5 separate regions of the Homo sapiens genome follow, and regions 1, 2, 3 and 4 are each linked to region 5. Evidence: promoter capture Hi-C in 16 types of primary human blood cells and fetal thymus (Javierre and others, 2016). All regions are on one chromosome and are shown on one strand. The core of a region is centred on a gene start or on the middle of the fragment in contact, and the rest is flanking DNA. Distances in the headings are between cores, read along the strand shown.

Region 1 (2,700 bases), core at 48-2,547, 380 kb after region 5:
GGAGAGTCTGTTGTGCACAAGGGCCGAGGCCACATGCTGTCCCTCACTTAGTCCCAGCCATGGTGCAGCTCCTGCCCCAAAAACCCCTCAGAGCCTCCTCCTTTGGGCCCAGGAAAGTGCCAATCACCCTGAGCCTCCCTGCCCCCCACCCCCCACGCAGTGGAGGTCCTATGATTAGTCCTGTTTTACATGGGAGGAAACCGAGGCTCAGAAAAGTGACCTGGTTAGTCCCTTTGCCTCTGCCCAATGGCTCAGTGAGGACTTGCTGACTGTGAGAATGACTCCAGTTCAGAGCATGTTCTCAGGCTGTGGTGAGGCTCTGGTCCAGGGTAGGCTCGGAAGCAGCCTGTCCTCAGACTGATATGATGCCAGCTCCCAGGTGGCAGGAGCATAATGGTACCCCCCAGAAAGGAGGGAGGCATCCAGTCCGGGTCCTTGAGTCTTTTTTTGTTTGTTTGTTTAAATAGAGACAAGCCTTGCTCTGTTGCCCAGGCTGGAGTCTGGAGTGCAGTGGAATGACTATGGCTTACTGCAGCCTTCACCTCCTGGGCTAAAGTGATCCTCTCACCTCAGCCTCTTGAGTAGCTGGGACTACAGGCACACACCACCACGCCTGGCTAATTTTTTAATTACTTCTGGTAGAGACAGGGTCTCGCTATGTTGCCCGGGCTGGTCTTGAACTCCTGGCCTCAAGTGATTGTCCCACCTTGGCCTCCCAAAGCGCTAGGATGATAGATCACCTCCCCTGCCCAGCTGGCCCCTCTGTTCTCAGCCTGTGTCAGGCATGGCCTCTCCCCCATCGCTGGGCTGTTCCCCGGCCCCCAGGAGCCTCCCCCTCGCTGCTCACTGGACTATCGTCTGTTTTGGAGTCTCCTTTGGGTCCCAGGCTCCAGCCCCTGCGTTGGAGTTGGTGGCTTCTCCAGAGCCTGTGGTGAAGGCTGTGCCTCAGGGCAGGCCAGGGAGGGGACCCATGGGGACAGATCGCTGAAGCGACAAGCATTCATAATGCAGGGACCACTGCTGGGCTCTCAGACAAGCCCCAGAGGACCAGTTCCTGGCAGTGGCCACATTGCCACGTGTCTCAGAGCCCACCTTGGGAGACCCCCTTCCTGGAGAACCCCAGGAAGTCCCCAGAGCCCCTGCCCGCCAGCCTCTGAGAGGCCCAGAGGGGGCAGAGACTTACCTGAGGCCACTGAGCTGCTCTGAATCCCCCCTTGCACCATCGGGCCCAAAGACTCACCCCTCCATGCCGCCTGGAACTGCTGGTCCAGCCTGGAGGCGCAGCGCAGGGACAGGCTGTCCCCGCCTGGCAGGAGCCCCCCTCCACGGCCCGCAGGCCTGGCAGCTGGGACAGGGCTGAATGGGAGGCATTGTCGGCAGACCAGGCAAGCCAGGCTTCCCCAGGCTGAGGTGAAGAAGGGGCGGGCGGCGGGCGGGAGCAGCGGCTGGAGTTACAGGGCCTCCTGCCTGCCCCAGCCGAGGACTGAGGCCCCGGCCTGAATCCTTGGGCCAGCCCGACAGGGAGGGGGCACCAGCAGCTGGCCCGGGAGTCAGCAGTCCTGGGCTCCCTCCTGCCATGTGGGCTGCCCTCCCAGAGGCTGCTTCCTAGTCTCTGAAAAACACATCCCATTAATAAGTAGCTCTGAGGTCACAGTGGGGGTTCAGGCCCGCACCTGGCACACAGTGGGTGCTTCAGAACAGGTGACCCTTTCCTTCCGTTTGTGCTTACACATTGACATAAATAGTTTAATACTGGACACACAGGATTCTAGACACTCATTTTTTTCACTTAACCTCAGATTACTGGGAGTTATCCAAATTGACTCTTCCGAATCTCATTATTCTGTGGTATATAGTATTCCATTGTGTAAATGTATCACATTGACTTAGCCATTCATCTTGGACATTGGCTACCTCCAATTTTTTGCTATTTACAAACAATATTGCAAAGAATATCCAAATACGCATCTTCCCAAGCTCGTGTTTGTTTTTTAAATAATACATCCAGACCATGGCCAATGTTCATGTATCTTGATTTTTCAGATTCCTGCTTCTGATGGAATTGCATCTTCTACTGTTTGTTCCTTTAATTGGAAACAGGGGTCAGGCACAGTGGCTCATGCCTGTAATCCCAGCACTTTGGGAGGCTGAGGTGGGAGGATCACTTGAGCCCAGGAGTTTGAGACCAGCCTGGGCAACACAGACTCTGTCTCAAGAGAAAAAAAAAAGGCCGGGCGCGGTGGCTCACGCCTGTAATCCCAGCACTTTGGGAGGCGGAGGCGGGTGGATCACGAGGTCGAGATCAAGACCATCCTGGCTAACACAGTGAAACCCTATCTCTACTAAAAGTACAAAAAATTAGCCGGGTGTGGTGGCAGGCGCCTGTAGTCCCAGCTACTTGGGAGGCTGAGGCAGGCAAATGGCATGAACGCGAGAGCCGAGATGGCGCCACTGCACTCTAGCCTGGGCAACAGAGTGAAACTGTCTCAAAAAAGAAAAAAAATATATACATATATATATATATATATATATATATATATATATATATATATATATATATGTATGTGTGTGTGTATACACTTATGTGTGTATATATTTATATATAATAAAAATATAAATGTATATGTTTATATATATTTATATATGTTAAACAATGAACATCTGTGTGTACTTTTCCTAGACTGCAGGAGTTTTTTGTTT
Region 2 (2,700 bases), core at 93-2,592, 420 kb before region 5:
CTCCAAAATTCAGGCAAGGAGGATCGGGTGATCATTCCATATCCTTAAATGTACAAAAAGAGAAACCTCATTCCAATCATGTTCCATATAATCACCATGGGAGGTAAATGAGAGAAGGGATGAAGTAGGAGAAGCAGAGCTTTCCATTTAAAACCACAAGGCCAGGGCTGGCCCTAGAGTCTAGCAGGCTCTGGCCTCAGAGTTCTATGGAAAGCTCTAAATGGAAATATAACCAGCAATGCAATGAGCTCTGAAAATGCTCTTTGGGAGTTCTGAGGGGGAAAAAAGGTACCTTACCCTGGCCCGCTCCAAGCTCCTTCTCTGCTCATGAAATGCGGCTGGACTTTTCAAAGCTGTTGAGAGAAGAACCGTAAAGATTACCTTCAAGCGAAGCATCATGTCTAGTGCTACGATATTCAGTGGAGAAGGCATCTTAAATTCATGTTACTGGCTGGGCGTGGTGGCTCACGCCTGTAATCCCAACACTTTGGGAGGCTGAGGCAGGCAGATCACGAGGTCAGGAGATCGAGACCATCCTGGCTAACATGGTGAAACCCTGTCTCTACTAAAAATACAAAAAATTAGCCAGGCGTGGTGGTGGTGGGCGCCTGAAGTCCCAGCTACAAGGGAGGCTGAGGCAGGAGAATGGCGTGAACCTGGGAGGCAGAGCTTGCAGTAAGCCGAGATTGCGCCACTGCACTCTAGCCTGGGCAACAGAGCGAGAAACCGTCCCCCAAAAAAAAAAAAAAAAAATCACATTACTGTTAGTAGTACTATAAATATCAGTTGAAGTGAAGGCAATGACACCTGAGTAAGCATGTATCTTTATGGTTTAGCTACCCCATTCAAACAGTTTTGGTAGAAACCAAAATATGACTCCTAATGGGAACTGTCACTGCCTAAGCTTGGGCTATATAAAGTGCACCCATGGAATGTAACTTTAACAAACACCCTGGCCCATGACTGGACCGTCAGCCGCAAATCCCCCTTCAGCTAGGACTCCAAGAACGCCTGCTAGGCCTCACATTATTCTCAGGACACCTGCACACAGGAAGGGGCACAGATGCATGCCAAATTAACCTTACTTCCTCAACCTCACGAGGAATCATAAAGTGGCCAAACTGTTTCAATGGGACAGTTAAAACCAAAAAGATATATGTCCACTCGGCACTATTTCCTTCTTCACTGCACCTGTTATTTATAGTGCTGCTAAAATTAACTTGAATTTCATCTCTAAGGACTAAAAGAACCCCATGGCAATTGTATGTGAAGGAACACACACAACCGACAGCTGAGACGAAGGGCTCAGCTCTATTCTGGGGATACCACACAAAGACCACAAGTCTCGACTTCTGCAAACAACACTCAGGTGGCAAGACCAAACCAAGAGCCTCCAGAAAGGCTGCACCATGAATGGAAGGTCTGACTCCTTTTGTCAAAAACTTGGCTGTAAGGACAAATAGCAACTTAAGACACTCTGAGGATGAGAGGGAAAGGCCTGACTCACTTCAAGTAGGGAACAGAGGCAATAAGAGAGAAATTTATAAGACTGTGGTCAGTTTCACTTCTCCTGCCCTAGAATTTCCAAAGAGCTGTGAAACTGCGAGCAGAGATAACTTTTGCTAGGCTGCTGGCTGCGGTAGGAGTGCAGGGTTAAGGAGCTGCTAAAAGTAGCAAGAGAGCATAGATAGGACCCTATCCTGCCTGGGCCGTTGTGCTTCTTCCTCCTTCCTCTCCACCCCCAGCGGGGGGCTGGGCCTCAGCAACAGCAGTCCCAGAAGAAAGCTTCAATTGTCCCAGTGGTATTTATTTTTAAAAATTTTTTGTGAATCTTAAGATAAAAAAGAAACTACAGTCTTAAAAGTACTACTGAGATCCCATCTTCTAACAGAAGGGGGAGCTCTAGATTTAACAAATAACATCAAAGAAAAACCAGTACAAGTTACCTCCCCAACCTACCTGGGCACTATCCAGGATTCCCCACTTCTTACATGGGCAGGTCGTGGGCATTTCAGTGGGTAAATAGACACCCCCTGCACCTGCTTCTACTGTGTAACGCTAGCTCAACTCCAAACGTCCTGCTCTGCAGGAACCCGGGTGTGATGCATCACACGTAACCTTGGCTCTTGGAAAGCTTAGCACATGCATGAGACAGTAAGTACAAAGAATCAAGAGAAAACGGACACTGTCCACCCCACCCCAGCTTCCTTTTCTGCCTCATTTTTCTCCGCAGCACTCATCACTGTCTTGACAGTCTTTATATAAATACTACGTATCTGGCTGGGCATGGTGGCTCACGCCTGCAATCCCAGCACTTTGGGAAGCCGAGGTGGGCAGATCATGAGGTAAGGAGTTCGAGACGAGCCTGGCCAACATGGTGAAACCCCGTCTCTACTAAAAATACAAACATTTTTGTACAGGCATGGTAGAGGGTGCCTGTAATCCCAGCTACTCAGGAGACTGAGGCAGGAGAATCACTTGAACTCAGGAGGCAGAGGTTGCAGTGCGCCAAGATAGTGCCACTGCACTCCAGCCTGGGAGACAGAGCAAGACTCCGTCTCAAAAAAAAAAAAAAAAGGCGGAATACTACATACTTTTCTTGTTTACTCTCAGTCTCCCACGTTTACATTTACAACATGTCCCCATCAGAGCACAGCAAGGGTTTTGTCTATTTTTTTAGTCACTCACAGCATTCCCCAA
Region 3 (2,700 bases), core at 84-2,583, 490 kb before region 5:
CTTGTCTCTACAAAAAAATACAAAAATTAGCCAGGTGTGGTGGTGTGCGCCTGTAGTCTCTGCTACTCAGGGCTGAGGCGGGAGGATAGCTTGAGCCTAGGAGGTCAAGGCTGCAGTGAGCCATATTCATTCCCTTGCCCTCTGGCTTGGGTGACAAAATGAGATCCTGTCTTAAAAAAAATACAAAGATGAATAGATAATCCTCATCTTCAGAGAGCTCAAAACTTAGTGGTGAATACTTGTAAATAGGTCATTATGATACCAAGCAGTACGTGCAAGGACTGAGGGCTAAAAGACTAAAACTGGAGGTAGGAGACCAATAAGGAGGCTACTGCAACGGGCCAAGCAGTAGATGATGAGAGCTTGAGTGAAGGCAGTGGTGAGAGACACAGACCGGGGAGGGAGAGGAGGTTAAGCTCTTGGTGGCTACTTGAAGAGGGCTGGGAAGCAGGAGGAAAGAAGCTGTGGTGATTTTTAGGTTGGATGGAAATGGTGAAACCACCTGAGAGAACACAGGCTGGGCCAGTTTGCGGGAAAGGTTGGTGAGCATGTGGGCATGGTGGTTGAATCATCTGTGTCTAGGCAGAAATTCCTGATAGGCAGTTGAGGAAAACAAGCTCAGTGTTGGAGTAAAAGCTTCATCAAATTAGGTTTCAGTGGTATCCCCTGACATTGGAAAAGGTATTATCTGCTAATATCTTAACATTTTCTTTTGTCTTGTATTTGCTTTCCTCTGGCAGGTGCAGAGATTCTTAGAAGAGGAGGTGTATCCCCTGTTAAAACCATATGAAAGCGTGATGAAGGTGAAAGCAGAATTATGTCTGTAGAGTTGGAAGAGAATTAAACGAAAATCATTGTTAATTGCTGAGGCATGAAAATTGTGTTACTATAATGCCTTATTTTACCTCGAGAATTGTTACCTTAAATTAGTACAGCACTTTCTTCTTCCCATGGTGCTTTCCTGTTTCTCAGTCTCACATTTCTCAACAAGGCAAAAACAAAGAGCGTTGAAGTTGACTCTGCTCTTGCATAGTAAATGTAGTTCATACTTGATCTCTGTTCTTTCAAGGCATATTTTCCAGCTGCCTCAAGTTTAGTCCTTTTCACGTGTTCATTTGCTTGTAAAGTAGCAAGAAATTTCTGGTCCTGTCTTCTAAAAGTGAATTTGATCTAGGTCTAGCAAAATAACCTGGACTCAGTGATTGAGTCAATGGTCAGATACCTTTTATTTCGGTTATTTTTGGCTAGTATAAGTGATGAAGTTTGGAACTACAGTAAATACTTAAAAAAAAAAAAAAAAAGAACCAAACCCTGATGTGACCATCAGGCTGATTGAGCTGAAGTTGTGCCCAAGCTCATTTCATCTTTTGATAAGGCTTATACAGCAGGGAAATGCTAATTGAGTATATTGATTTCATCAGGGCCGCTGACAGTCTTTATTCCTTGTTGCATGGATTTTGTTGTTGAGGCTTGCTCTGTCACCCAGACTAGAGTGCAGTAGCACAATCTTGGCTCACTGCAACCTCCGCCTCTCAGGTTCAAGCGATTCTCCAGCCTCAGCCTCCCAAGTAGCTGGGATTACAGGCGCCTGCCGCCATGCCTGGCTAATTTTTGTATTTTTAGACGGGATGGAGTTTTGCCATGTTGGGCGGGCTGGTCTTGAACTCCTGACCTCAAGTGATCCGCCCATCTCAGCCTCCCAAAGTTCTGGGATTATAGACATGAGCCACCACACCCAGCCTAATCTTGTTTTCTTTTTTTACTTGTTTACAGTGTAAGCAAGTGCCATTGGACAAGAACGTTGTCTGTGTCATTCCTTGTTGTATTTCCAATAGCAAGAGCACATCAGATACTTGGCAACTAGGCAGTCTTCCAGCTTCTGCCACTGCGCCCGACTTCCTTGTTGCATGGATTTATAGCTGATTGAAGCAACTGTAGCCAAAGATTGAGTTAATTACCTACCTGCCAGGAGAGCACTAGTGTTATTTAGCCCATTCTCATCCTACATATTTTTCGGCATAGATGAAAATGAAAGCTTTTGTTTATCAGATTTGCAGATGACACAAAACTGGGAGAATTAACAAGTATGTTTATTTGGTAAAATAAGTTTTCATCTCTAACCTAAATCGGCTGAAATGATGTGTCCTAAACTAGAGGAAAAAGTTAATAAAGATCAATGTAAATAAGTTAATCTTAAACTCAGTATGCACCAGAACTGAGAGAAGACTGTTTTAGGAGGTGTTAATGGTTGTCCAGTGCCCAAAAAGCCACCAGAGGCTTACTGCTCCGCACTCTTGGCATTACATTCAATTTTGGATACCCAGTCTGAGGAATAGAGATGAACTGGAGAGCCAACCTCCAAAAAGATCTTGTGGTGGAGGAATGTTAGGGCTCTTTATCCTATACAGAAGAAAACTCCTCGGCACTTCAAATATTGCCAGGTGCAGGAAGAGTGACTTGATTGTGTGTTGCCCCAAGAGACACACTGAGCTCAATACCCATTACTGAGACTGGCTTGGGGCCAGACATTGGAACCACTGAGATTAGCAACCTACACTCAATCCCCCAGGTCAGGCAGAAGCTGGAAGACTGCCTCGTTAGGAATGTTGTGAGGGAGAGGAGGCTGAATCGGTTCCAGTTTTATTTAAAAGTAGCCAGGAAATCAGGTTGCGATGATGCGCATTTACAGTCCCAGCTACT
Region 4 (2,700 bases), core at 114-2,613, 290 kb after region 5:
TCACGCCTGTAATCCCAGCACTTTGGGAGGCTGAGGCGGGCAGATCACAAGGTCAGGAGATAGAGACCATCCTGGCTAACACAGTGAAACCCCCGTCTCTACTAAAAATACAAAAAATTAGCTGGGTGTGGTGGCGGACGCCTGTAGTCCCAGCTACTCAGGAGGCTGAGGCAGGAGAATGGTGTGAACCCAGGTGGCAGAGCTTGCAGTGAGCGGAGATTGCGCCACTGCACTCCAGCCTGGGCGACAGAGCAAGACTCCGTCTCAAAAAAAAAAAAAGATACAGAATCAGACATAAGAATTCTATCTTTTATTATTCAATTTCACAAAGGCATTCAGATCTAACATTTTGCTCATATTCACAGGTTTGAATCAATTTGGCCAGATGAGCATGGCCCAGCCCCCTATTGTACCCCGGCAAACCCCTCCTCTTCAGCACCATGGACAGTTGGCTCAACCTGGAGCTCTCAACCCGGTTAGTTTGACGTCTTTGGTAATCTCTTTGGCCTTTACCTGGTATTTTGAAAATCCTGTTTGTTCCTACTTTATAAATTCTCACAGTCATTTAAACAGACCATAACTCCTAGTTCTTCTGTAATTCTTCTGTATTTAACTCTACTAGAAAGCTGACCAAAAAACGAAAACAGCCAGTCCCTTGTCCCTGGAGTGTCAGTGTTTAGTGGCCTGCATGCGTTTTCACGGTCACTTCTCTTCCCTGATGTCTGTCTTCCCTCCTCCAGGCAGAGAACTGTCTTGCAAGGTTGATGGTGCGTTTTTGCCTGGTTCTTGAACTCGGAGAAGAGAGACTAGGCTTCTCCTGCTCCTTATGCGAACTCTTAACCAGTCCATCTCTCTACCTTGACCCTAACCCTCCTGCTGCCCTTTAGAGTTAGCTGGTGCCTCTGATTCTTGACCCTTTTGGGGGTTCCTGAGCATTACTACTTCTCACTAATCTGCCATTTTCAACAGGGAGTTCTGTCCTTCATTTTAACCTATAAGACAGATGGTCTTAGCTTATGAAGTTTTTGGCCTTTGGTACTCGAGATTTCTTTCTTTAAGGCCTGAATTTGTGTAGGGTAATTTTGGAAATGACATGTAACAGTGCTAGAGCATTTGTGGACCATGAATGCTACCAGATTCTGCTACAACTTGTAAGATTTTCTTGTTTTTACATATTATGGGTCTTAGAATTTGTGTTATTACATCACTGACATGACCTCATGAAATTGTGATTAACTCTCCTCACTTAACAGAGCATGCAAAGAAAATTACCTGCTATCCTTGTGCTAGGCATATTTGTGTACCAAGAGAATGTGTGTTCCATCCTCTTACTATTTCTTGGAGTAGGCCTAGGTAAACTGTGAGGCTATTTCTCTTTATCTTGGCACAAGAGTCAGTTGTTCTACAACTTTCTTCCTTCTCCTCTTCAGCCCTCTTCACCTATACTCCTGTCTTTGGCTTTTCTCTACTTAATAAGCCTGACGTTAGGAGCATTTGATGATTTTAGTTATAGTAGAATAACTATAATGAAGCAGTTTGGTGATTTGTGTTTTTTTTTTTTTTCAGCCTATGGGCTATGGGCCTCGTATGCAACAGCCTTCCAACCAGGGCCAGTTCCTTCCTCAGACTCAGTTCCCATCACAGGGAATGAATGTAACAAATATCCCTTTGGCTCCGTCCAGCGGTCAAGCTCCAGTGTCTCAAGTATGTCTCATAAGTGGATTTTTCACTTATTTTTGATTCTTGAAACTTCTCTTGATGTAGGTTTTTATAGGAGAGAGTGGCAGCAAATAGTGGGTGAAAACAGATGATTTTTTAAAAAATAACAATTTTGGACTTAGGGTATTCTGAACATGAAGAGATTATTCTGTGACATAGCAATGGTGTTAATTGTTACAAAGTAGGAAATAATTTAAATGGATAGTTTTAATTGTTTTTACTAGTGAACACTTTAAAATAAATCTTAGAATTAAACACAATGTAGAAGGAAATCTGGCTGAAAAGAGCATAGGCAGGCCCTAGAGCACTCTGCACTCAATTCTGCCATTTTTCTGCGGTGGCTGAGGCCATTCTGCTGAATGGTTTGAAGTCTCTTTAGTTAAGTACTATCTTGATGGTGCTGTCCAAAGATACATGCCCAGTAATAGGGTATTTTACACATTTTGAAATAGACACATTGCTACTCTTTGTTTAATCAGTTTGTGTCCTAAATTTATATATCATGCCTATGTAAGTATTTCCTTAATTCTGTTCTGAATTGCTGTCTTGTTATGTTTTTTATTTTAACAGGCACAAATGTCTAGTTCTTCCTGCCCGGTGAACTCTCCTATAATGCCTCCAGGGTCTCAGGGGAGCCACATTCACTGTCCCCAGCTTCCTCAACCAGCTCTTCATCAGAATTCACCCTCGCCTGTACCTAGTCGTACCCCCACCCCTCACCATACTCCCCCAAGCATAGGGGCTCAGCAGCCACCAGCAACAACAATTCCAGCCCCTGTTCCTACACCTCCTGCCATGCCACCTGGGCCACAGTCCCAGGCTCTACATCCCCCTCCAAGGCAGACACCTACACCACCAACAACACAACTTCCCCAACAAGTGCAGCCTTCACTTCCTGCTGCACCTTCTGCTGACCAGCCCCAGCAGCAGCCTCGCTCACAGCAGAGCACAGCAGCGTCTGTTCCTACCCCAACAGCACCG
Region 5 (2,700 bases), core at 37-2,536:
GCAGGAGGATCGCTTGTGCCCAGGAATTGGAGGCTGCAGTGATCCCGCCACTGTATGCGGCCTGGACAATACAGCCAAACCCTGTCTCTAAAAGACAAAAGTCACTAAACACATAACGTTCACAGCAGCACCTCTTAGGAGTCGCAATGGTCTGCATAGTTGCTATTTATCCCTGTTTAGTGCAATTTGTATGTCATCTTTTCAGTTCCCCATTAGTAATAATTTTTTAAAAAGTCATCTTAGGGAAGACTTCCCTGTCACTTTTTCTCTTCGGTGCTCCTTCAACACATAAAATGCTAATTACTATTATATAGTAAATATCAAAACGAACTTTTCTATTTATTCGTCTAAATAGACAGTACTTATACTGTTTCCTAGCACCAGGCACAATGCCTTGTCAATTAACTCCTTGCACGTAGCGAAGTACTCTACAGTTAAAGACAACAAGATTATATCCTGGAAACATGCCAGGCCTTAAGAAATTATTTTTCTCAGACGTGTTTGGAGTGATAACACTGCCAAGTAACGGAGGTATAATAAGTGATTCTCAAGATAATTAATCCTACGCAGCTACAAACGCTGTAAGGTAAAAACAATCATTTTTACAGTTATCATTTTTATTCTTACTAGTTTTGTAACTTTTAACTTACTAGTGTTATATTATTATAACACGACGTAAAGGAATAGTGCGTAAAGGAACTGCTATGTACCAATGAGACCTGAGCAGGGCACACAAGACTGAAAGAAAAACAACCCCACGCAAAATCTAAGTCTTGCAGTTTTCACTCCTCGCGTCTCCAGTGTCCACGCATCCGCAGTCCTGTTTTTGTATTTCGCCCAAGATACACCCCTGGGCAACCTCAGGGTGCGAGGAACCCAGCTCTGCCTCCTGCTCCCCGCGGCTCCTGTACTACCCAAGGCTCGCGATCTTCCATGACCCCTCGAAGTTGCCTCCCTTTCCCGGGCAAAGAAGGGGCAGCGACCCCGCCTCGCCCGCCGGACCGAGCCAGGTCCAGCCTGGCTCCCCCCTGGGGCCGTGCTTCCCCCGCCCCCAACGGTCCTCAGGCCTGGGTCTCACCTCTCCACCCACTCCCTCAGGAAGCGCATTTCCTCGGTGTGCAGAACGCTCGGATCCTGCTTACACATTTTCACAAAGGCCCGAAGCTCGTTCACTTTGCGGGGGTCCATGGTAGGGAGGTGGTGGGCGAAACTGGGGGGGCTACGGCCCGGTTCCAGGCCCAGGCGCTGGCTCGGCGTGACCGCGCAGAAGGGGGCGGCTGCCGCAAGACAGAACAGACTAGAACCTCCCCGGCCGCTGGCTCCTCCCACCCAACGGTCTCGTGACCTCGGGTCCTCCGCCTGCTCATTCCTACTCCCTCTGCGCTGCTCCTGCGCGCTCCCTAGAATCTTCTAGAAGCGTGGCTGTTCGTGCTGTTGCCTGCCTCCCTGCGCATACATTCTCATATTCTTAACTAGGAACCAGCTCCCTGGATGGGGCAACCCCAGAAATGGGCGACTTCAAGGAGGCGGGAGATAACATCCCCTCCAGGGGGCGACGTCCAAGAGCATATTGTGTGGCTGCGTGCACTGAGTAGAGCTCAACGCCCGGGACCTAAAAAAAAAAAAAAAAAAGGGCGTGGAGCCGGAGGGTCGGTCCCAGCTCGGGGCATGACGTCACAACCTGCGCCGCCGCGCAAGGAAGGCCCGCGAGCCGCCTCCGCCGGAAGGGGAGGTGCGGCTGGCCCGGTTTCCTGGCGACGCGGCCCTGCAGGCGGTTGCGTTCCCCGTCGTTACCCTCTTTCTCTTCCCGACGCGTGAGTTAGGCCGTAATGCCTTGGCTGCTCTCAGCCCCCAAGCTGGTTCCCGCTGTAGCAAACGTCCGCGGCCTCTCAGGTTAGACTCTTCTCCCACGGTCTCCTCCCATGGTGTCCCCTGGAGGGACCCAAGTTGGTCTCAGGCGATCCCTGGTTCGGCTGACCCTTCTCCTGGTGGGGCCTCCGCTCCCCAACCCTCTGTGCTCCGCGGATTTCTTCTATACCGGCTGCTCCTGGAAAGGGGTGGGCCCAGTGTGTTCTCTACCGTTGAGGTATTTTGTGAAGCCGAAATGACTGCAGAGAGAAAAGTGTGCCATCCCCCAGAGGGGCTGTCTTCCAAGTTACTCGGACTCCGAAGTTGTGGCAATTATCACACTTAAGTGACAAAGTGTCTCACATCAAGTAGCTCTTGTTTCTGTTAGGCGTGAGAGCTTGCTCCAGAATATACACGAAGCATGTTTAGTAACAAATTCTTTCAGCAGCTCCTCTTAGGAGAGGTAACTGTTTCGAAATACTTCTGGGGCGTTCTGTGTCTGAAAGTCCTGTTTGCAAAGACAAGACGAAGGATAAGGAGAATAATTTTTTGTAGGGTGTCCTCTATTGCGAGCAATTAATCTGATGAACATAAAGCTTAATCAGTGAAAACTGAATCACCTTCCTTGCAGGCGGATCTGCCATTGGATCGTATTTCAGTTTTTTGGGTCAATATATGAACAATGTGTGAACCAGAACGTATGGTATTTGACATCAAAGCTATGTCTTGGCATATGTTTATGTTGATATACTTGAATTCATTTAAAATGGAATGTTAATTACATCGACTTCTTACTATAAAAAATAAAAAGTTATTGTCCAGTGCACAGAACTTGTTCTTCAGTTCTCATAG

What was found. The method cuts DNA at HindIII sites, captures the fragments that hold promoters and counts their contacts. A CHiCAGO score of 5 or more calls a contact.
Region 1: a contact is called between the fragment with the promoter of CHADL here and the fragment with the promoter of ST13 in region 5, in 2 of 17 cell types (fetal thymus and M1 macrophages). The highest score is 23.5, in fetal thymus.
Region 2: a contact is called between a fragment that was not itself captured here and the fragment with the promoter of ST13 in region 5, in 2 of 17 cell types (megakaryocytes and naive B cells). The highest score is 5.8, in megakaryocytes.
Region 3: a contact is called between a fragment that was not itself captured here and the fragment with the promoter of ST13 in region 5, in 1 of 17 cell types (naive B cells). The highest score is 5.0, in naive B cells.
Region 4: a fragment that was not itself captured here is called in contact with the fragment with the promoter of ST13 in region 5 in 4 of 17 cell types (M2 macrophages, monocytes, M1 macrophages and 1 more); the score reaches 8.7 in M2 macrophages.

The regions. Positions count from the first base shown.
Region 1 is chr22:41,239,634-41,242,333 of GRCh38, forward strand. It overlaps CHADL (chondroadherin like), which reads right to left and starts at 1,298. Exons shown (of 6, transcript NM_138481.2): 1 at 1,241-1,298. The coding sequence starts at 1,248. RefSeq lists enhancers at 901-1,401, 1,402-1,902. The HindIII fragment of the contact is 52,914 bases long and covers 1-2,700 here.
Region 2 is chr22:40,435,202-40,437,901 of GRCh38, forward strand. MRTFA (myocardin related transcription factor A) reads right to left here. Exons shown (of 15, transcript NM_020831.6): 5 at 298-353. Among named protein-coding and RNA genes, the nearest start is that of SGSM3, 66 kb to the left of the region's middle. RefSeq lists enhancers at 1,090-1,149, 1,410-1,539, 1,660-1,709, 1,780-1,829. The HindIII fragment of the contact is 881 bases long and covers 903-1,783 here.
Region 3 is chr22:40,365,696-40,368,395 of GRCh38, forward strand. ADSL (adenylosuccinate lyase) reads left to right here. Exons shown (of 13, transcript NM_000026.4): 13 at 741-2,700. The coding sequence ends at 827. Among named protein-coding and RNA genes, the nearest start is that of SGSM3, 3.5 kb to the right of the region's middle. The HindIII fragment of the contact is 1,399 bases long and covers 635-2,033 here.
Region 4 is chr22:41,147,472-41,150,171 of GRCh38, forward strand. It overlaps EP300 (EP300 lysine acetyltransferase), which reads left to right. Exons shown (of 31, transcript NM_001429.4): 12 at 366-475; 13 at 1,567-1,704; 14 at 2,290-2,700. Among named protein-coding and RNA genes, the nearest start is that of EP300-AS1, 49 kb to the right of the region's middle. The HindIII fragment of the contact is 4,498 bases long and covers 1-2,700 here.
Region 5 is chr22:40,855,353-40,858,052 of GRCh38, forward strand. It overlaps ST13 (ST13 Hsp70 interacting protein), which reads right to left and starts at 1,287. Exons shown (of 12, transcript NM_003932.5): 1 at 1,079-1,287. The coding sequence starts at 1,188. It overlaps XPNPEP3 (X-prolyl aminopeptidase 3), which reads left to right and starts at 1,796. Exons shown (of 10, transcript NM_022098.4): 1 at 1,796-1,893. The coding sequence starts at 1,830. RefSeq lists enhancers at 1,015-1,784, 1,412-1,631, 1,642-2,101. The HindIII fragment of the contact is 3,469 bases long and covers 1-2,442 here.